2 separate regions of the Homo sapiens genome follow, and region 2 is linked to region 1. The links are contacts of gene promoters, found by promoter capture Hi-C in human tissues and cell types (Jung and others, 2019). All regions are on one chromosome and are shown on one strand. The core of a region is centred on a gene start or on the middle of the fragment in contact, and the rest is flanking DNA. Distances in the headings are between cores, read along the strand shown. Region 1 holds the start of ASPHD2 (aspartate beta-hydroxylase domain containing 2). Region 2 overlaps SEZ6L (seizure related 6 homolog like).

Region 1 (6,007 bases), core at 136-2,635:
TTAAGCACTGCTTCAAACATTTGATCCTCACAGCTACCTAGTGACAACTCCCCATCTACCCAGTGGGGAGAGGAGAGACTCTCTCCCCCGACAGCTCCTTGCCCAGTGACCACAGTAGCTTCCAGCTTCCTTCGCACATCTGTTCATTGTCATCTGTGTTATTTCTGTCCTCATCAGGGATGGGGACATCTCATTGCAGCTCTGCACTTTAATAATAAGCAACCCCAGATCTTCCAGCTCAGTTGGCTCTGGGGAATTGAGTCCAAATCCATGGCCAGTTGGAGAGCAAGTCCAATCCAAGACAACTTCTCACACCATGAACACCTGGGAGAGCCGGTGTCAGGCCTGACCTGGTCAGCCTAGTTCAGATGTCCATTCCCAGAGGCTGCCTAATGCCAAAGAGTGTCTGCTCACCCTCAGGATGAGGCCAAGTCACCCTGGAAGCCCCCCAGTGAGCAGCACTGGGCAAGGTGTGTGATGCCTGTCACCCTCTCCACTCAGGAGCCAGAGAGATGCCGTGGGGCCAGCCCTTCCCGGTGCAGACCTGGGGACCTTCCCTCTCTTGGCCAGCTTCTCAGCACCCACCTGCCCTGGAGAGTGGGAAAGAGGGGAGGGCTGAAGATGGGTTAGCACAGATGGTGACCACCAGGAGGTCAGGGGAGGAGGGGGATGGGACGATGGAAAGGTGAGTGTTGCCCGGAAAAGTGGACGATCAGCTCAAGATTGTGGAAGGAGGTTTATGGCGCCTCATAATTCGTGGGACAGGGGAGGAGGGTCACCACGTGAAATATGGGAAGTGGGTGATGCTGAGGGCTGGGGGAGGGGACAGGAGGTGAGGAAAGAGGGGTCACAGGGGAGAAGGGAGATGGAGGAAGGGACCACGATGGGGCAGGGAAGAGGAGTAGGAGGAGGTCTAGGGAGGGTGATGCCCGGCTCCGAGGCGGCGGCGCTTAGCACGTACGAGCACTGGCCTCGGCCGGGCCGGGATGCGGGCGCCCGGGTCCCGGAGCATCCTCGGCGGGGGCGGCGGCGGCGGCGGCGCCGGTAAGGGAGGGCCGTGGGCCTGCAGCTGCCGGGCTCCCGCCTCCAACCCCTGTCCTGGGGTCGGCCCAGCCGCGCCGCCCTCCCGCCCCGGCAGCCCCCGGAGACGAAGCTTACCTGCGCCCGGGCGCGCGGACGGCTGCCGGGACCCAGGAGACGCCGCCGCCCGAGGGCGCGGACCCGCGGACGGCCCCTGCCCGGCGCCGCGGAGCCGCCGCCTGGCTGCTGCCCAGCCCACGCCGCGGGAGCCCGAGCCGGAGCCCGAGCCCGAGCCTAAGCCGCGCCGGTGCCCCTGCCGGTGCCGACGCCGCGCTGCGCTCCGCGGGGCCGCGAAGACCACAACTCCCACAATGCCGCGCGCGCTGGGCCGCCGGGGGAGGGGGTACGGGGGGGCGGGGCCTGCGGGGCGGGGCCGGGGACCCCCCTGCACCCGGCACCTGCGCTCGCAGTGCGGGAGGCGACCCGAGGCCGCGCCCGCCGCCGCTCCGGAGGGTCCTGGCAGTGCGCCCCGAGACGCAGCGCCCGCCCAGCCCGAGGTTGCGCGCAGGCGGCGACGGGCGTGCAGTCATTCATTAAGAAAGGCTCGCGTCGCTTCCTTCGCTCTTTCGTTTTTCGCTCTGTGTCTTTCTCAGTTCTCCCTCCCTCTGTCTCTCTGTTCCTCTCTGAGTCGCCCTCGTCTCCATTTCCTCCTTTTCATTCTCTTTCACTTCCCCCCCACCTCACTTCCTCTCGCCCTAACGCCTTCTTTCCTTTATTGATGGACTCAACACGGACTTCTGAGGCCCTCAGGCACTTGGAATGGAACCGCAAATCAAACCAGATTCTTAGTCTCATGGAAAACTCATTCGCTCAGTACAGTAATGATGGGCCAGCCTGGGTCCCCGTCCCTGCCAGCTGCGCTGAGCGTGCGCGGTGAGCGCTCAGGCCCGCCCTGCCCTCAGTGAGCCACCGTCTAGCGGGAGGGGACCCTCACCCCCGGGTAGGGTTTAGGAGGGGAAGTACAGGCAGGACGGTTGTCTGACCAGGGGACTGATGAGCTGCGAATGGAGGCCCCAAGGAGGCTGCTTGGAGGAGGTGACGTTTGAGCTAAGACCTGGGGGAGACTAACAGTGGCTACGGGATGTGTTAGGGGCGCCAGGGAAACTGCATGGGTGGGTTCTGGGAGCATAGAGTAGGATGGCCCGCCCACAATCCATCTGTCTCTGTCCCAGACCCACCTCTCTTGTGTCCCAGAATTTATCTCTAACATGGCCCAGAAGCCACCTCATGTCTGTCCCAGAATCCATTTCTCATCCCTATTCCAGAAGCCACCTTCACCCTGTTCCAGAACGTACCTCCTTCCTGTTCCAGAACCCACCTCCCTCCCTGTCCCAGGACCCACCTCCACCCTGTGCCAGAACTCACCTCCTTCCTGTTACAGAACCCACCTCCTCCCTCTTCCAGAACCCACCTCCTCCCTCTTCCAGAGCCCACCTCCTCCCTCTTCCAGAACCTACCTTCTTTCTGTCCCAGGACCCACTTCCACCCTGTCCCAGGACCCACCTCCTCCCTGTCCCAGGACCCACCTCCACCCTGTCCCAGAGCCCACCTCCTCCCTATTCCAGAAGCCACCTTCACCCTGTTCCAGAACATACCTCCTTCCTGTTCCAGAACCCACCTACTCCCTGTCCCAGGACCCACCTTCACCCTGTGCCAGAACCTACCTCCTTCCTGCTACAGAACCCACCTCCTCTCTCTTCTAGAACCCACCTCCTCCCTCTTCCAGAACCCACCTCCTCCCTCTTCCAGAACGCACCTCCTCCCTCTTCCAGAACGCACTTCCTCCCTGTCCCAGGACCCACCTCCTCCCTGTCCCAGGACCCACCTCCACCCTGTGCCAGAACCCACCTCCTCCCTGTTCCAGGACCCACCCCCTCTCTGTTCCAGAACTCACCTCCACCCTGTTCCAGAACTCACCTCCTCCCTGTCCCAGGACCCACCTCCTCCCTGTCCCAGGACCCACCTCCACCCTGTGCCAGAACCCACCTCCTCCCTGTTCCAGGACCCACCCCCTCTCTGTTCCAGAACTCACCTCCACCCTGTTCCAGAACTCACCTCCTCCCTGTCCCAGGACCCACCTCCTCCCTGTCCCAGGACCCACCTCCACCCTGTGCCAGAACCCACCTCCTCCCTGTTCCAGGACCCACCCCCTCTCTGTTCCAGAACTCACTTCCACCCTGTTCCAGAACTCACCTCCTCCCTGTTCCAAGACCCACCTCCACCCTGTCCCAGTACCCACCTCCTCCCTGTTCCAGAAGCCACCTTCACCCTGTTCCAGAATGTACCTCCTCCCTGTCCCAGAGCCCACCTCCACCATGTCCCAGAACCCACCTCTCATCTCTGTCCCAAAATCCACCTGGTCCCTGACCTAAGAATCTGCCTCTACTGTGATAGCCTAAAATCCACCTCCTCCCTGTTCCAGAACCCAGTTTGTCATGTCCCAGAACCCACTTCTTCCATGTCCCAGAGTACACCTCTCCCATGTCCCAGAATACACCTCTTCCATGTCTTAGACTCTTCTTCATCTCTGTCATTTCTCTCCTTTTCTCAACTCCAAAAGAGGAAGAATGTTTTTTCTCTTTTATTCTACTAAAATAAACCAAAACACTTGCATTGGGAAACCATAATATGCACAGATTTGCTCAAAGTGTGGATAATCAACACAGGCATCAGATTTAGAAACATTAAATGGGATGTCTGTCTTCACTGTCAGCCTAAGAGTGGTTGAGCCTGGGTGGGGTGGAGAAAATGGAGTGGGGGGTATTTGACTCATCTCACATTCAGAAAGTTGCTCAAACTTAGAATTCTCCAAAGGCAGTCATACATTCTATCACAGCATTATCCTGGCAGGTTTGAAAAAAAAAAGATATTTTTATATTGTAAATATGTGTTCCATTCCTGCACCATCTTATCTGTACTGTATTATGAATTAATATTGTCTATCAATCCTATAAGTGTCCTTGACCAGTGCAATTATATGATATCTGTAGACCACTGCTCTGCATTTGTTAGTATTTATTTGTTCAATGGCAATATTACTATACACGCAATTTTGTTAGCCCTGCTTACCATTTCTTCATCTTTTTAATTAGCTGGGAGTCTCAATAAATGGAAATGACCTGGGCCTCTGTCAACCCCTTGGAGACCCTACTAGGTGAATTCTGCAGAAAAGGATATCCATGCCTTTCAGAGGGGGATTTTGGGTGAGAGCTCCAGATAAATTGTTACTGTGCTCATGGAGAGGCGGAGAGGAGGACCAAGGGCATCTGAATTGCCTGCCTTCAGCTTGGCTGCCACCTGCATCCTCCTGCTCTCGCTGCCTTCTTTAGCGCAGTCATCCTACCCACTCCGAGACTACACAACCTATCATTACACCGTCTCATACACTCACGGGGTCCACTCAACTCCCTCCTCCTACAGATGGAAGCCCAGAGAGAAAACATGCCTTGCTCAATCAAGGTTGCAGCAAGTCAGTGGAAAATGTGCTTGCGGCCAGCCGTGGTGGCTCACATCTGTAATCCCAGCACTTTGGGAGGCCGAGGCCAGTGGATCACCTGAAGTCAGAAGTCCTAGACCATCCTGATCAACATGTTGAAACCCTGTCTCTACTAAAAGTACAAAAAGTTTTGTATTAATTTTTGTATTAATTAACTACAGGTGTGGTGGTGCACGCCTGTAGTCCCAGCTACTCTGGAGGCTGAGGCAGGAGAATTGCTTGAACCCAGGAGGCAGAGGTTGCAGTGAGCTGAGATTGCACTACTGCATTCCAGCCTGGGTAACAGAGCAAAACTCTCTGAAAGAAGAAAGAAAGAAAGAGAGAGGGAGGGAGGGAGAGAGGGAAGGAGGAAAGGAAGGAAGGAAAGAAAGAAGGGAGGGAGGGAGGGAGATGTGCTTGCTTGGTGCATTAAAGAAACTGGTATGATCACTTTGGAGAGCAGTTTGGTAGTATTCCTTAAAACAACAACAAATATGTATACACTGAAACCAACAATTTCGCTATGCTATATCTAACCTAGAGGGATTCTGGGATAGATGGAAGACTAGTTGTTTTTTCATATTACGTAATACTGTGAAGCTACTAAAAGCAGGAGCTAGATGTATATATAGCAACGTGGATAAAGCTCCTAGAAAAATAATAGGGTGAAAATTAAAAAAAAAGCAGAATTATGATTGTAGTATGATTTTATCTACATAACACGCACCTGTACACATGTGGGTATACACATGTATTTATATAAAAGCAGGGAAAGCACTAGAAGAACACACTAGTATGTTCTCCTATATAAAATGCAAAATAATTACGTTTGTAAATGCAGATAATATCCCTCAGAGGAAGCACACCAAATTCCTAAGAGTTGTAACTTCAGGGGGGACCAAGAAGGAACAAGGAATTGGGAGCAGTAGGCAAGGGAAACTCCAGCATTTTTTGTGATGTTTTAATTTAATATTTTCAAAGGTGTTTAAATACTCCGGAACAACATGCAGAAAGTTACTGGGACCGCGTCACTCTCCTATCCCTCAACCAGTTGGTTTTCTTTAGTGAAGACAGCCATTATAACAAATTTCTTATTCATCTTTTCAGGAATACGCTTTGCATTTGCAAATATTTGGAAATAGCTTAACTTTTAACTTTTAAAAAGTAAGTTTCACTTTTAACAAATAAGTATTAGTATGTTATTTGTGATATTAAAATGGTTTTTAAAGCCGGGCATGGTGGCTCACACCTGTAATCTCAGCTACTTGGGAGGCTGAGGTGGGAGGATTATTTGAGACCAGGATTTCAAGACCACCCTGGACAACATAATGAGAGCTTGTCTCAAAAAAATTTAAATAAAAGAAAAATTTTATTCACATTAAATATTATTTTTCAAGAATGTAGAATTGTTCAACATCAGAAAGTATTTTAATAGAATTCATTCTGTTAACA
Region 2 (5,959 bases), core at 2,236-4,735, 49 kb after region 1:
GCATTCAAAGTATCTGTAGGTGTTACCCCAACCCAATCCCCAGAAACTGGAAACATTCCACTTGGTGCCATCCTGAAGTGTCTGTAACAAAAATTCTACACACTTGAGTCTTTTTCATCTGTTTTATTAGCATCAATATATACAAAGTGGAAAATGACTTAATTTCATTATTCTAGCTTAGAAAGTTTGTTTTGCTTTTTATTTTGTTTGGCGATAAAATGGAAATGAAAATTTCCCAGGAGAATGCCTACCTTTGGGGGTGCTGAACAACTCAAATAATATCTGACCTCAAATGACTCGTCATGCCTAGTCAAGGACATAGGAAGATCATGCCCTTCGGATTCACTCGAAGGGCATTTTTGCCTGAGGCCCGTGCCTCAGCCTAAAGCTACCCACATATTTGCCAAATCACTACTTGTTATACAACCCTCCTGATTATGCAGATGCTTTGCTTCCTTCTGGGCTGTTTGGCAGTCTTCAAAGCTATCAGCCTGAGGTTCTGTAGGCTCTCCAAGGGGTGAGCTTCAAAGGATCATAGTTAAAGCACATCTATGAAACTAAGTAAGAATGGCCATCAGGTAGCAATCAGAATACTTATGTTAGCTAAATAATTCTACAAAAAAAAAAAAAAAAAAGCAAAAAGCTGAGCTCCAAGCTAAAGAGGGTTGAGTGTGTGCATTTTTAAAGCACAGGGTGGTAGCTGACAGATACAGCTTATATGAATTAGCATGTAATACACACCATCACATGCATTCTCTGAAGCTCACAATCTCTGTAAACGTATTTCCCCACTGTTTTAAAAACAAAGAGTGGCTTGTAGGAAGGCTCAGTCCATTCTCGAGTTTCTCAAGAGTGTATCCTATTCAAAAATATTTAATCCCAATGGGTTTTAATATTGATCTTATAAAAACAGACGTACATGAGCTGTAATGAGATGCCTTGCACATTTTTGGCACTATTTTTTTTTACCTTTACGTATTACAAATACACATTCAGATATTTTAAAAAGAAAAATAGACACCAACCTGTCTTTTCAATCACACTGTACATTGTTGAACTCGTATGATCTGTCTCTAGGCTAAAACAAACTTTTAAAACACGGTTACGGGTGTGGTACTACTAAGACAGAACTGAGACACTGGTCTTCTGAAAAAAACAACAATGACAACAACAACAAAAAAACAAAAAACACAACGCCTTTTCTATCTTTCCAATAGTCAATAAGAACATCTGGGGTGTGGCCTGGCTAGTTTTGGGGATAGGGTTAGAATAAAGATTTATATTTTGTCAGTCTTTATAAAAGGCAAATGTTTAGTTTTCACATAACCATAACACGTTGTAAAATCAAATATTATTCATAGAGTTCTTCATTCCAGGTGACCCAGGGTTAGGGTTAGAATAAGCATCAAATAAAATGGATTGAGTTCTGCCTTTTAAGGAAAGGTTACATTATTTGTGTTGTTATCTTTCTCCAAACATGACATTGTCCACTAATGGCCTAGAACACTTCTCTGGTTCTTGCATTAAATGGGGCTTTGGGTCCTGGAAAGCAGCCTTTAGCTATTTCTTGCCATGGACCACACACTCATGCCTTCAGGAGTATATGTGCAAGATTCTTTTCTGGCAGAAGGAAAATATTCTGGTCTTAGACCCCCAAGATTGAAGTCTGAGTTCCTGCTGTCAAGGAGGGTACATGTGTGCCTAAAATCAACTTTCCCTATCTTGCTTAAGATGTTTCCAATGTAACCACCAAAACATAGACTCCCTGCTATTCTCCCTATGGCCAGAAAGGTCTTTTCTTGTTTGAAAACCAGCAGACTTGAAACAATTCCAGAGAGAATGGGAGGGCACCAAAGAGGGTTCCAAATGCCACTGTGCCCGTCTGTCTGTCCAAGCCATTGACTGTCACCACCATGTCACCGGTCCCAGGAAGGTGAATCTGCTTCACACATAGTATTTCTTCCATGCACCCGCACCCTCCACCTTCTCTTTATACCTGTATTTAGAAAAGAATCTTCCCAAGAGTTACACACTCACCGGTTTCACTGGGTTGGGGGAAAACAGACCCTGATAAAATAAGAGGAATGCCCGTGTGACTAGATGTGGGGCTATGGAATCCTTTCTGAATGAAATTCCTCTCTCTGTCTTCATTGATGTTCAGATCAGATGATACAGGATTCCACTGGATGGTCTGCTGTGATTTAAAATCCCCTGCCCCTGTTCTCTGCACCTCCTCAGTCAGCATTCACACCACCCTCCAACATCCAGACAGCTTTGGAGAATAGAAAAATAGTTTCTTCTCATGGGACCCTCCCGCCCCCTGAAATACTTGATGGCAAGTATATTCTGAAGATGACACCTTTTAGAGAATCAGTGCACTTGAGTCTCCTCTATTTTGAGGGCTGAGATATTCCAGAACCCCAGGAGAAACCAGAGCTCACCCCTGCATTTCCAAACATGGCACCTCCTTTTTCCCATCACAAATCCTTGTCACTGTATGAGTGGGGCCGCTGGTGCCTCCCAAGCCTGTGTGTTTATTACCACAGCTTGAGAGTGGCTTGCTGAACATGGTGATCGATTCTGGCACTTGTAGCATAAATTACACGCTCTTTCATCATTGAAAGAGTGTCAAAGAAAAGAACATTTTAACCCAATTCCCTTACCCAATGATCCCCCTCACCCAATTCTTCATTGGAACTCTCAAATCTCTCATTTGTCTCTGAAAAATTGCCTTTGGTCGTTTATCACCTTTCTAGAAAGAAAACGTTTTCTTGTTTTGTCACTGTCCAGCGAGGCCAGAGTGGTAAAAGACAATGTTTATATAACACCTTTGCTACCTTCAGAAGAACCGTGAGAGGGAGGGGCTGTGGAAAAACCTTTCAGAAGCTGGCAAAATGGGAAGAGAGGACACAGAATTTGTTTAGGAGCACAGCTCTCCAAATGGGTTTAAGTACCCATGCTAAATTCCAACCCAAACTAAGCCAACAAGAAATACCCTTTCCAACCTAATCTTGGGACTTAGATTTGTACTGAAAACATCATGGGCATGGTTCCCAAAGATGCATGCAATTCAATGCAGCCTTAGCATGGCATTGCTGATGGGAGAAACTCCATCTGCTGTTTTGTGTTTTTGCTGCCGCGGTTTGCCATTTTGCAAGTCTTCCACCTGCCTTCAGAATTGAGGCTGTAACATGAATTTGGCTGAGGCCGCGAAACATCCAAACCCACACCTATTTCACTTTTAAATATAATAAATACAGGGAAGAAAACAGTAAACCTTTGATAAAGAGTCTAAACAAAAGACAGTCGACATTCTGGGGTTTCAATCAAGTGCCACATGGTCTCTGGATGAATGTCTCGAGGAGATTGTGGTTGAGTTCACAAGTCCCCTTCTCAAGTGTAGCTCTCTTTAGATAGAAACCTCATACTCTCTGGTTTCCTGCAAGAGAGAGAAGCACGGATTTGTCAAACGCTTGTGTGGTAGAGTGATATACATAGGGGGATGCAGTTCTTTGCACCTCTGTATGTCCATGCCCTTGGTCGTGACTTTTCAGTGCCCTCCCACTCTGACCCTGATTTGCTTTTGCCAATGGGTTATAAGGAAATGGCGTACAACAGCTGCTTGAAACATGCTTGTGTGTTTCTGCTCACATCCTGTCTATCTGTCATCACCAAGAACAGGGCATGCCCTGGTAGGCTTTAGTCTCTTCAGGAAAATGAAGGACACACAGAGCAGAGCTGAGTCACCCATCCATCAACCAGCCAATGCCAGGATTACCATCCAGCTGAAATAAGCCTAAAACGCTGTCCCACAGACTGATGAGCAAATGAATGCTTGTTGCATTAAGCCATTGAGTTCAGAGATCTTTGTTACTCAGCATTACTATAGTTCTAGGTCACTGATACACTCTACTAATAAGTATTCATTCATGTCTAGTCTCTAAAATTCTCCTTTATTTCAGTCTGACCTTTTCCCATGATTTCAAAGCAAGCTACATAGAATGCAAAATAACATATGCCCTGATCTACCATTGCCATGTGAAACGACTACAACATGGGGGGTAGTTTGATTTCTTCAATATTTATGGAGTGTGAGTAATGTATTCCAAGCTCCAGGGACAAGGAGCAAGGAGATAGAAGAAGGCTCAGCCCTGGAAGTTGACACTGTCACATGCTTTAATGAAAGTCTCCAGCTCCCATTCAGCCAACACAGATATGCAATCACATCTATGCTTCATGGTACATGGGATTTTGGTGGGCAGGCCCCAAGGTGGTCCCCATGATCCCCACCTTCTGGGGCTCATGCCTTTGTGGGGTCCCCTCCTTTTAAGGGTGGGTAAAGCCTGTGACTTGATTCTAACTAGGAGAATACACAGGTGCTAGGATGTCACTTCCATGTTTGCATGACACAGGATTGTGACTTCTGTCTTGCAAGATGACTCTCTCTCTGTTGCTGGCTCTGAAGAAGCCAGCTGCCATGTCATGAGCTGCTCTATAGAGAGGCCCACATGGAAGAAACTGCGGGTGGCCCCTAGAAGACAGCCCGCAAGAAATTGAGGCCCTCATTCTAACAACCTGCAAGGAACTGAATGCTGTCAACAACCATGTGAGTTTGGAAGTGGATCCTTCCCTGGTTGAGCCTCAGATGAGACTGCAGCCCAGTTGCTGCCTTGTTTGTAGCCTGTGAGCCATAAAGCAGGGGGTCAGGCTAAGCTGTGCCTGGCTTCCTGACTTATAGAAACTATGAGATAATAAATGTATGTTGTTAATTTAGGCCCCTAAGTTTGCAGTAATATTGTTACACATCAGTGGATAACTAACACAGGAGATCAGAGAAGTGGAGGTGAAGGAAGGTTAGCAGGATAAGAAACAAGTCAGGTTTATTCCCCCCAAACGTTGGGAGATGGCTGCACATCATTACACAGTGAACTTGAAGGATGGTGGTTTTGCAAACTCATAACCAGCCTTTTGCTTCCTCGCATGTGCCCTGGACCTTTGCACATGCTCTCCCTTCTGTCTGGCATCTTCTTCAGCCCATTGTCCAAGCTCTACCCACTTCCCATGTCTCAGCTTTACTCTCACTTTCTCAATGATGCCTTCCCCAACTCCCTCTAAGTGTCCCCATTATACATTCTCCTAGTGCCCTGTTCAATTTTTTCATAGTCCTTAAAAAGTATTATTTGTTGTAATCAAAATATTCATGGGCACATTGGATTGTCAGAGGTTCGAGGGAAGCAAGATAGCATCATGATTAAGAGTGTCAGGTTGAATTTGCATCCTGGCTTCAGGCTGTGCATCCTGGCTGTGTGCCACTTTGGCCAAATTATTCTTTCCTCTCTCTGGACCTCAATGTCCTCATCAATCAATTAGAGATAACTGTGGAACCTATTGCAGAGAGCTGCAAGGATTCAAGGAGATTATGCATTTAAAGTGCCCAGCAGATGGCATGTATTATTATTGATAATAATAATTCACAAGACGGTAGGCTCATTAATGGTGGAATCTGTGTCTATTGGGGTTCATGACTATGTTCCTAGCACCTAAAATAGGACCTGATACTCAAATGTGTAGGGATGTTTCACACTGCCATTGAATAAAGGGTGGAGCCCAGTGGGATGTGTGGGAATGCAGCACGTTGCCACCAGGCCACCGTTGGTCTGCTCTCTGTGGGTCTTGGGTGCAGCCTCTTTTTTCTGTGGGTGTTCTGCTGACAGTAATCAGCCTCCTAGGCTCGTCCTCAGCACCAATCACCTGCAAAGAGAGCTGGGTTCTCCCAGCATTTATCTCTTTAGGGCTCTTGGTGGGGATAAGACAGGACCACTGGCTGTGCCTCTTGTGAGCAATAGGAAATGAAATGTTTTGTCTTATTGTTGGTGAATTCAGAGCAAAGAGGGAGGGAATTGGGAAGAGACGAGAGAGACCAACTCACCCCTGTCTCGTAAATGGGGTTGTCAAACTC

The links. The method cuts DNA at HindIII sites, captures the fragments that hold promoters and counts their contacts. A contact is called where the count stands out against the background at its distance.
Region 2: a contact is called between a fragment that was not itself captured here and the fragment with the promoter of ASPHD2 in region 1, in 1 of the 25 tissues and cell types used here (H1 embryonic stem cells).

What each region holds. Positions count from the first base shown.
Region 1 is chr22:26,424,638-26,430,644 of GRCh38, reverse strand. ASPHD2 (aspartate beta-hydroxylase domain containing 2) reads right to left here and starts at 1,385. Exons shown (of 4, transcript NM_020437.5): 1 at 1,159-1,385. RefSeq lists silencers at 1,235-1,294, 1,415-1,544. The HindIII fragment of the contact is 9,826 bases long and covers 1-6,007 here.
Region 2 is chr22:26,377,746-26,383,704 of GRCh38, reverse strand. SEZ6L (seizure related 6 homolog like) reads right to left here. Exons shown (of 17, transcript NM_021115.5): 16 at 5,930-5,959; 17 at 109-3,439. The coding sequence ends at 3,410. Among named protein-coding and RNA genes, the nearest start is that of ASPHD2, 49 kb to the left of the region's middle. RefSeq lists an enhancer at 5,908-5,959. The HindIII fragment of the contact is 9,503 bases long and covers 1-5,959 here.